2 separate regions of the Homo sapiens genome follow, and region 1 is linked to region 2. Evidence: promoter capture Hi-C in 16 types of primary human blood cells and fetal thymus (Javierre and others, 2016). All regions are on one chromosome and are shown on one strand. The core of a region is centred on a gene start or on the middle of the fragment in contact, and the rest is flanking DNA. Distances in the headings are between cores, read along the strand shown.

The links. Contacts are between HindIII fragments. The CHiCAGO score rates a contact against its expected background, and 5 or more counts as called.
Region 1: a contact is called between a fragment that was not itself captured here and the fragment with the promoter of ESRP1 in region 2, in 1 of 17 cell types (neutrophils). The highest score is 5.7, in neutrophils.

The regions. Positions count from the first base shown.
Region 1 is chr8:95,284,932-95,288,552 of GRCh38, forward strand. The region is part of intron 1 of CFAP418-AS1 (CFAP418 antisense RNA 1); the gene reads left to right. Among named protein-coding and RNA genes, the nearest start is that of TRS-AGA2-5, 17 kb to the left of the region's middle. The HindIII fragment of the contact is 5,016 bases long and covers 1-3,621 here.
Region 2 is chr8:94,638,913-94,642,470 of GRCh38, forward strand. It overlaps ESRP1 (epithelial splicing regulatory protein 1), which reads left to right and starts at 2,262. Exons shown (of 16, transcript NM_017697.4): 1 at 2,262-2,538; 2 at 3,044-3,172. The coding sequence starts at 2,407. LINC02894 (long intergenic non-protein coding RNA 2894) reads right to left here and starts at 555. Exons shown (of 1, transcript NR_034034.1): 1 at 1-555. The HindIII fragment of the contact is 2,119 bases long and covers 2,086-3,558 here.

The DNA of each region.
Region 1 (3,621 bases), core at 536-3,035, 650 kb after region 2:
GAGTGCACCCCATAGTTGTAAAAATGTCAGGCCAGTAGATACCTCTTACTCCTGGGGGAATGTTATTAGGGGATTTTTGTTTGTGCTCTGACAAAGGTGGCCCCCTTACCATAGCCCTTGGTGTATAAAACTAGTCCTGAGTAAGGAATTGGACAATTTTGCCAAGAGGGCAAGGAGTCCCTGGAAGGAAAGGGATAAAGTCCTTGGCCCTTCTCTTGTGAGGGTTAATGTCATTAGATACTGATGTATTGAGATGAACTGGACTGAAGTTTGTTGGAAAGAACACTAACGGGGCTAGATTGGAGTTCACCATGGGCATGTCCGGTTTGGTGATCTGAATTCAACATTGGTACTTGGTCAGCATCTCATGGGGAAGGATAGTTCCTTCTAGTAGTTGGCTGAGGGATGAACCTCCACACCAAGCCAGCTGGGCACAGTTTCACTGAGGAATGACAACTGAGCAAGTGCAATGACCTAAAAATACAAGTGAAGACATGACTGTGACCTGTGAGCAGCAAGGACATTTCCAAAACAAGGATGACTGGCCATTGGGCTAGCGAGACCAGTGTTTAGTATGCCTATGAGGTAACTACCAAAGCAATGGTGCTGGTGGGTTCATAGAACTTTCTAGTTATTTCTCCCACCTGGCATTTGGAAGTGTAATTGACCCTTTAGAAGTGAGAAAGGCCCTAGAATGTTGGATCGTCTGGAGATAGAGTATTGGGAAAGGCCCCAAGAAAGGAATACCAGATTTTCTGTTGGTAAGGTCCTTGGGCCTCAGCAAGTCACTAGAAAAATAAGTGAAACACTATTTGTACTCTAAGCTGGTGAAGTATACATCCTGGTTAATAATAATAGCCATCATTTATTGGGCACTGTGTGTCTGGCATGGAGACTGTTCTTTGTCTACCAAAATTGTTTTCTCTTTCTTTCTAGGCCTGTAACGAGACTTCATTTCACAGCCTACTTTGCATTAGATGTGTTCCTGTGACCACATTCAGAGCAGATATACTGTGTGGCATTTCTCGGTGTGGGCCTCAGGGCAATAAAAGGATCTCCTCCATGCTCTCCTCCACTGCTACTGGTTGGAACCCCATAGTAATCCAGTTTTGACCAGGCAGATGTGAGCAATGTCCTGGAGGATGATGAGCAGCACAAAGGAAGGAACCTTGGTACCTGAAAGACCATGTGGAGCAGGGCTTCCCTGTTACCCTGAACTGCTACCCTGGAACTGTTATGTGAGAAAAAATAAGATTCTTGCATTTCTCCAACTATAATGGGCACAAGAATCACCTGGGGATTTGTGACAATGCAAATCCTGATTAAATAGGTCTTGAGTGGGGCTTGAGATTCTGTATTTCTTACAAGTTCCTAGGTGGTGTTCATGATGTTGGTCCAGTATCTACAGTTTAAGTTCCTCTCCAAGAAATTCTGATTTAACTGTTTAGAGTGGGGTTCAGGGACATGATGCTAAAAGAAAGCCCCAAATACCAAAAACCTTTCAAGGTGATTCCAATCTACACCAGGGTTGAGACCCCACTGGAGAAGAGAAACATTTTCTGAGAATGGAAGGATCCAGTTCCTTTCCTGATGTCCTTTGGAGGAGGCAATTCCTTTGAGTTCTTCCAAGCAGCCTTGCCATCCTACCGTCTCATTAACCTCTTACAGATAATGCTTTTTGTTTCTTGTCTGCCTCTGCTGATAGTACTTGTCGTCTTCTTGAAACTTCATTTCAGCCAGAAACTTTTTTTGACATATTGATTTGGAATGTTGAGCTTTGTTTTTGAGTAAAATAATTCAACATGGTGATGTATAGAGAAGCTGATTATTAGCTGTTCCCAAGATCTGCCTTTGGGGACCATATTTGAGCATTTAGTCTTAAACACTATAGCAGCAGCCTAACTTGAGGTTTCAGCCTTAAAACAGACAGACACTCATCATTACTGACAGGGATGTTGTAATAATTAAACTATTATTTTGTGCAGTTTCACCTGAAGGTTGCAAAGCCTTAAGAACATCTGGTGGCAATTTGTTAGTTATCACATTATTCTGCATTTATTAAGTGTTGATAATGCACTAGGTGTTGTACAGAATGCAATCCCTGCTCCAGAGCCAAGAGAGAGGGCAAGTATGTCCCAACAAAGAGAAGGTGAGGCTTACAACAGTTGAGGATTTTTCCTAAAAAATCCCTTCTACCTAGGTTAGTTGAAACATTGTGATTTTGGAGAAAAGCTCTCATTTGTATAAGTTGTCTCTAGTTTACAAAATACTTTTAGATAATCTAATTTATTTATTTTGAGAAAAAAATAAAAAACTCTCTTGCCCAGGCTGGAGTTCAGTGGCACAATATAGCTCACTGCGGCTTCGATCTCCTGGGCCCAAGGGATCCTCCCACCTCAGCCTCCTGAGTAGCTGGGATTACAGGTGCACACCACCATGTCTGGCTAATGTTTTATTTTATTTTATTTTAATTTATTATACTTTAAGTTCTGGGATACATGTGCAGAATGTGCAGGTTTGTTACATAGGTGTACACGTGCCATGGTGGTTTACTGCATGCATCAACCCGTTATCTACATTAGATATTTCTCCTAATGCTATCCCTCCCCTAGCCCCCCACCCCCAACTGGCCCCGGTGTGTGATGTTCCCCTCCCTGTGTCCATGTTTTCTGCTTGTTCAACTCCCACTTATTAGTGAGAACATACGGTGTTTGGTTTTCTGTTTCTGTGTTTGCTGAGAATGATGGTTTCCAGCTTCATCCATGTCCCTACAAAGGACATGAACTCATCCTTTTTTATGGCTGCATAGTATTCCATGGTATATATGTGCCACATTTTCTTTATCCAGTCTATCATTGATGGGCATTATGGGTTGGTTCCAGTCTTTGCTATTGTGAATAGTACTGCAATAAACATACGTGTGCCTGTGTCTTTATAGTAGAATGATTTATAATCCTTTGGGTATATACACAGTAATGGGATTGCCGGGTCAAATGGTATTTCTGTTTCTAGATCCTTGAGGAATTGCCACACTGTCTTCCACAAATGGTTGAACTAATTTATATTCCCACCAACAGTGTAAAAGTGTTCCTATTTCTCCACATCCTCTCCAGCATCTGTTGTTTCCTGACTTTTTAATGATTGCCATTCTAACTGGTGTGAGATGGTATCTCATTGTGGTTTTGATTTGCATTTCTCTAATGACGAGTGATGATGAGCTTTTTTTCATATGTTTGTTGGCCACATAAATGTCTTCTTTTGAGAAGTGTCTGTTCGTATCCTTTGTCCACTTTTTGATGGGGTTGTTTGTTTTTTTTTCTTGTAAATTTGTTTGAGTTCTTTGTAGATTCTGGATATTAGCCCTTTGTCAGATGGGTAGATTGCAAAAAGTTTCCCCCATTCTGTAGGTTGCCTGTTCACTCTGATGATACTTTCTTTTGCTGTGTGGAAGCTCTTTAGTTTAATTGGATCCCATTTGTCAATTTTGGCTTTTGTTGCCATTGCTTTTGGTGTTTTAGTCATGAAGTCTTTGCCCATGCTTCTGTCCTGAATAGTATTGCCTAGGTTTTCCTCTAGGGTTTTTATGGTTTTAGGTCTTACATTTAAGTCTTTAATCCATCT
Region 2 (3,558 bases), core at 1,012-3,511:
AGAACAGGCGGGGCCGGGTTTCCTCAAGTGTTCCAACCACTTTTTCAGCAAGAGTCACCTGCTTGGCGACGAGCCTCCGGACCGCCCCGCGCTATCTGTTCCACCCGGCGGGGGCCACGCACGGGGTTCCGCGTCCCTGTGAGGCGGCACCTCCTGGGCCCAGCAGAGCTGAGCACCTGGGAACCGCGCACCGAGAGCCCCACGGGGAGGTGGTTAGGGGGAACCGGCTCCTCCAGGCGGCCTCGCCCACTGCAATGCAATCTGGGTGGTTTTTCCAGGTCCCTCCCTGCCTCGTTCCGCGCCCAGTCCCTGCCCCCGCGACGCCCGAGGGCCTGGACGGGTAGCTCGGAGTTACCGGGGCTGGGGAGGAGCGAGGCTACTGCAGTAAGCCAGCCGGAACCCATTTATGACTCCGCACTCTGAAGTTCAGGACAGGGAAGCACCCACCTCTGGAACTCAAGCAGTGGACGAGGGAGGTCCCGAGCGCCGTCGCAGCGCTGCGAGTGTGGGACCCTGGCCTTCGCCCGCTCTCAGGGGACGAGAGCTGCCACCTGTATCACGGGAGGCCCCGCCTCCGCCTGCACCTTCTCCTACCAGGAAACGAGACGGCGCGGGCCTCGGGCTCCTCTCCCCCCTCCCGGGAGCTGAACCCCCACTGGGAAAGCCAGGTCTCCAGCTTCCCTTGACACGCGTCTTGAAAGGTTACCGGATTTGTACCCGGAGTGGGTTCTGCAGGGATAGGTGCATGGTTGCCCGTTTCACATCATGAATATGAACGGGGCTGGACACCTAGAGCCGAATTATTAATACTTCAGACAGAATTCTGTTCCCAAGAACAAATCGCTTTGAGATATAAAACCCGAGAAAACTTCACCTCTGGCGCTTTTCTCTCTAAAATGTCAACAAGACCCAACAACATACTGCCACCGATCTGGTGGCTGGGGGGTGATGGTTGGGGTACGAGCCTCTGGGCAGACCAAGCTGAGGTGGAGCAGGGAGGTTGTTTGGGAGCTTGGTCAAGTCAACACACTCCAATACAATGCCAAAAGCATGAGCAGAGGGAATGGGGTCAGGGCGCAGAACCTGGGAAAAAGCCTGCGTGGCCCGATTTAAGAAAATTTTTATTAGGCATGCGGATAGATGCTTTTCATTTGGGGCCCAAGGCAAATAAAAGGAAATGGGCCCCAGCTCTGGAGGATGTTCCAGCTTCGAACTAGCAGCCAGGACCAAACCAGACATAGCATTCAGAGTTGACAGAAAAAGAAGCGGGCTCCATTGTGCCTGAGTTTCCTTGCGGGGTCCCCCAGCTGCTTTGCGCGCGATAACTGCGTCCTGGGGAGTGACTAGGTGGTTGGGCGTCCAGCCCCTGGCGTCCGGCTCTGCCGCGCGCGGGGTTCCTCTCCGGAAGGTGGGCAGCGCGGCGGGTTTGGGACGAGCGTGCACCCGGGCTCCGGCCCGGAGAAGGGGGGGCTCGCAGGATTTCTCCTGCTGTTTGCACTGAAAGTTGTGTTGGCTCAGGAGCTGCTTTTCCGGGGATCTGCAGTTGCCCCCGCCACCTCCTGGCTGCGGTTGGCAGGTCCCTCCCTCAGCAGTTCGTCCTCCGCCTGCGCCGCGCCCTGGGCAGCTCCGCGCCCCGGGCCTCACCTCTGGCCTCCTTTCGCCTCCCTGCACCTGGCCTTTTCGCTTGACCGTTCAGAACCTTCGGCTTCGTTCCCTGCAGCCGGTATTCTCCGAGCCCCCCTGCACCTCTCAGTTACCTCCAGTGGGAACCCCTCCCCCCAGCGACTCCGAGCCCTTTACCTCTCTGAGCCCTTTCCCCGTCTGGCCTCGTCTACCCTCTGGGTGTCAACCGCCTCTTCCCTGCCCCTCACGTCTCCCCCTCCTCCTCCCCTGCCCTCGCCTCTCCATTCATCCAGCCATTGTCTCCCGCCCCTTCCTCCCCCTCCCGAAGCGGCCTCCTCCCCCACCGCTGCCACGTCGTGGTTTGAAGGAGCCAATGGGCCGGCGCCGCCAGGTGTCTCTTACCTGCACCACGTGGGGGAGGGGGAAGGGGCGGGCAGGTAAAGCCACATCCCAAAACAGAAAAGCTTTCAGCCATTGCGTGCCTCCCGGGGGGGGCAGCCTTGCTCCAGGCTTTTTGCATAGACGCCCGGGCAACTGAATACAAAAAGGGCAGGCCTCCTGCGCCCTCCTTCCCACCCCCCTTCCTGCCCTGGGCGTGGAGCACCGACCAGGTGTGGGCTTGGGTGGTTGGTTACCGCCTTTTGCACTAGCAGTAGCAAGGAAGGGGGGTGGGCGCTCTTTCTTTTTCTCTTAGAAGAGGGTTTAGCACAGGTTTTTTCGTTCTCACTTCCACACCACCTTACCGCCTCCCGACCCCCCCTCTCCCCCTCCCCACCTATCGTCATGACGGCCTCTCCGGATTACTTGGTGGTGCTTTTTGGGATCACTGCTGGGGCCACCGGGGCCAAGCTAGGCTCGGATGAGAAGGAGTTGATCCTGCTGTTCTGGAAAGTCGTGGATCTGGCCAACAAGAAGGTATTTCTCCACATTTTCGTCTAAATGCAAGGAATGGGGCAAGAAGTTTGTGGTAGAGGTTTGGGCGGGGAGGGGGGTGGAGGTAAGTAAATAAGTGCTCTTGTTTGCCCACTTGTGAGTCTGGACCCGAGGCCTAGGGAAGCTAGAGTAAAACCAAACTTATTGGCCAACTGCCTTGGAGCCATTTCAGTCCTCCGCAACTTAGCTCAGGTGGAGAGGCCGGCGCTACCGAGCCGGGTTCTTTGCCCGTCGGGGGACGCTCCGCCGAGACGAGGTGGGGTCTCGGAGGCCCCGGGGTCCACTTCCAGGGCTTTTCCGACCTATCGGGTGGGGGGTGGGGCGGGGGGCAGGAACGCACCGGAACCGATGGCGAGTCGAGAGCTTTGATTCTGCGTCCGGACCCCAAGAGAGGCGCGGGCCGCCCCAGCAGGGGAGCGAGGGAGGAGGGTGCAGAAAGAGGCTCCGAAATTGGGGGAAACTGACCCGTGCTTCTCTACCTTCGGAGGTGGGACAGTTGCACGAAGTGCTAGTTAGACCGGATCAGTTGGAACTGACGGAGGACTGCAAAGAAGAAACTAAAATAGACGTCGAAAGCCTGTCCTCGGCGTCGCAGCTGGACCAAGCCCTCCGACAGGTGACAACCCCGGGTCACGCCACCCACCCCAGCCTGGGCCCAACCCCACCGCACCCTACGCCCTCTCAGGGCGGCCCACGCGTGTTCCCGGAGCAGGGTGGCGAGACGCCTGCCCGGCCGCGTGGGTGGGAGCCCAGCCTGAGGGCCGGGGCGCACCGTTTGGGCGGGGGTCGCTGCTTCTCTTCATCTCCCAGCCCCCAGGGTTTGGGACCGACATTCACTAGTTTTCGAGTTGCTTCCTGAGTAGTTACTGGAGCCGGAGAGTCAGCTCCATTTTGCCAATTGATTGACGTGCGGAGTTTGAATCCTAGCGCCCCCATCTCCAGGTCCAGACCCCAGACGCGCCGCTCCCCTGCGGGGTTTGGGCCCACAGCCTTCGGGCAGGG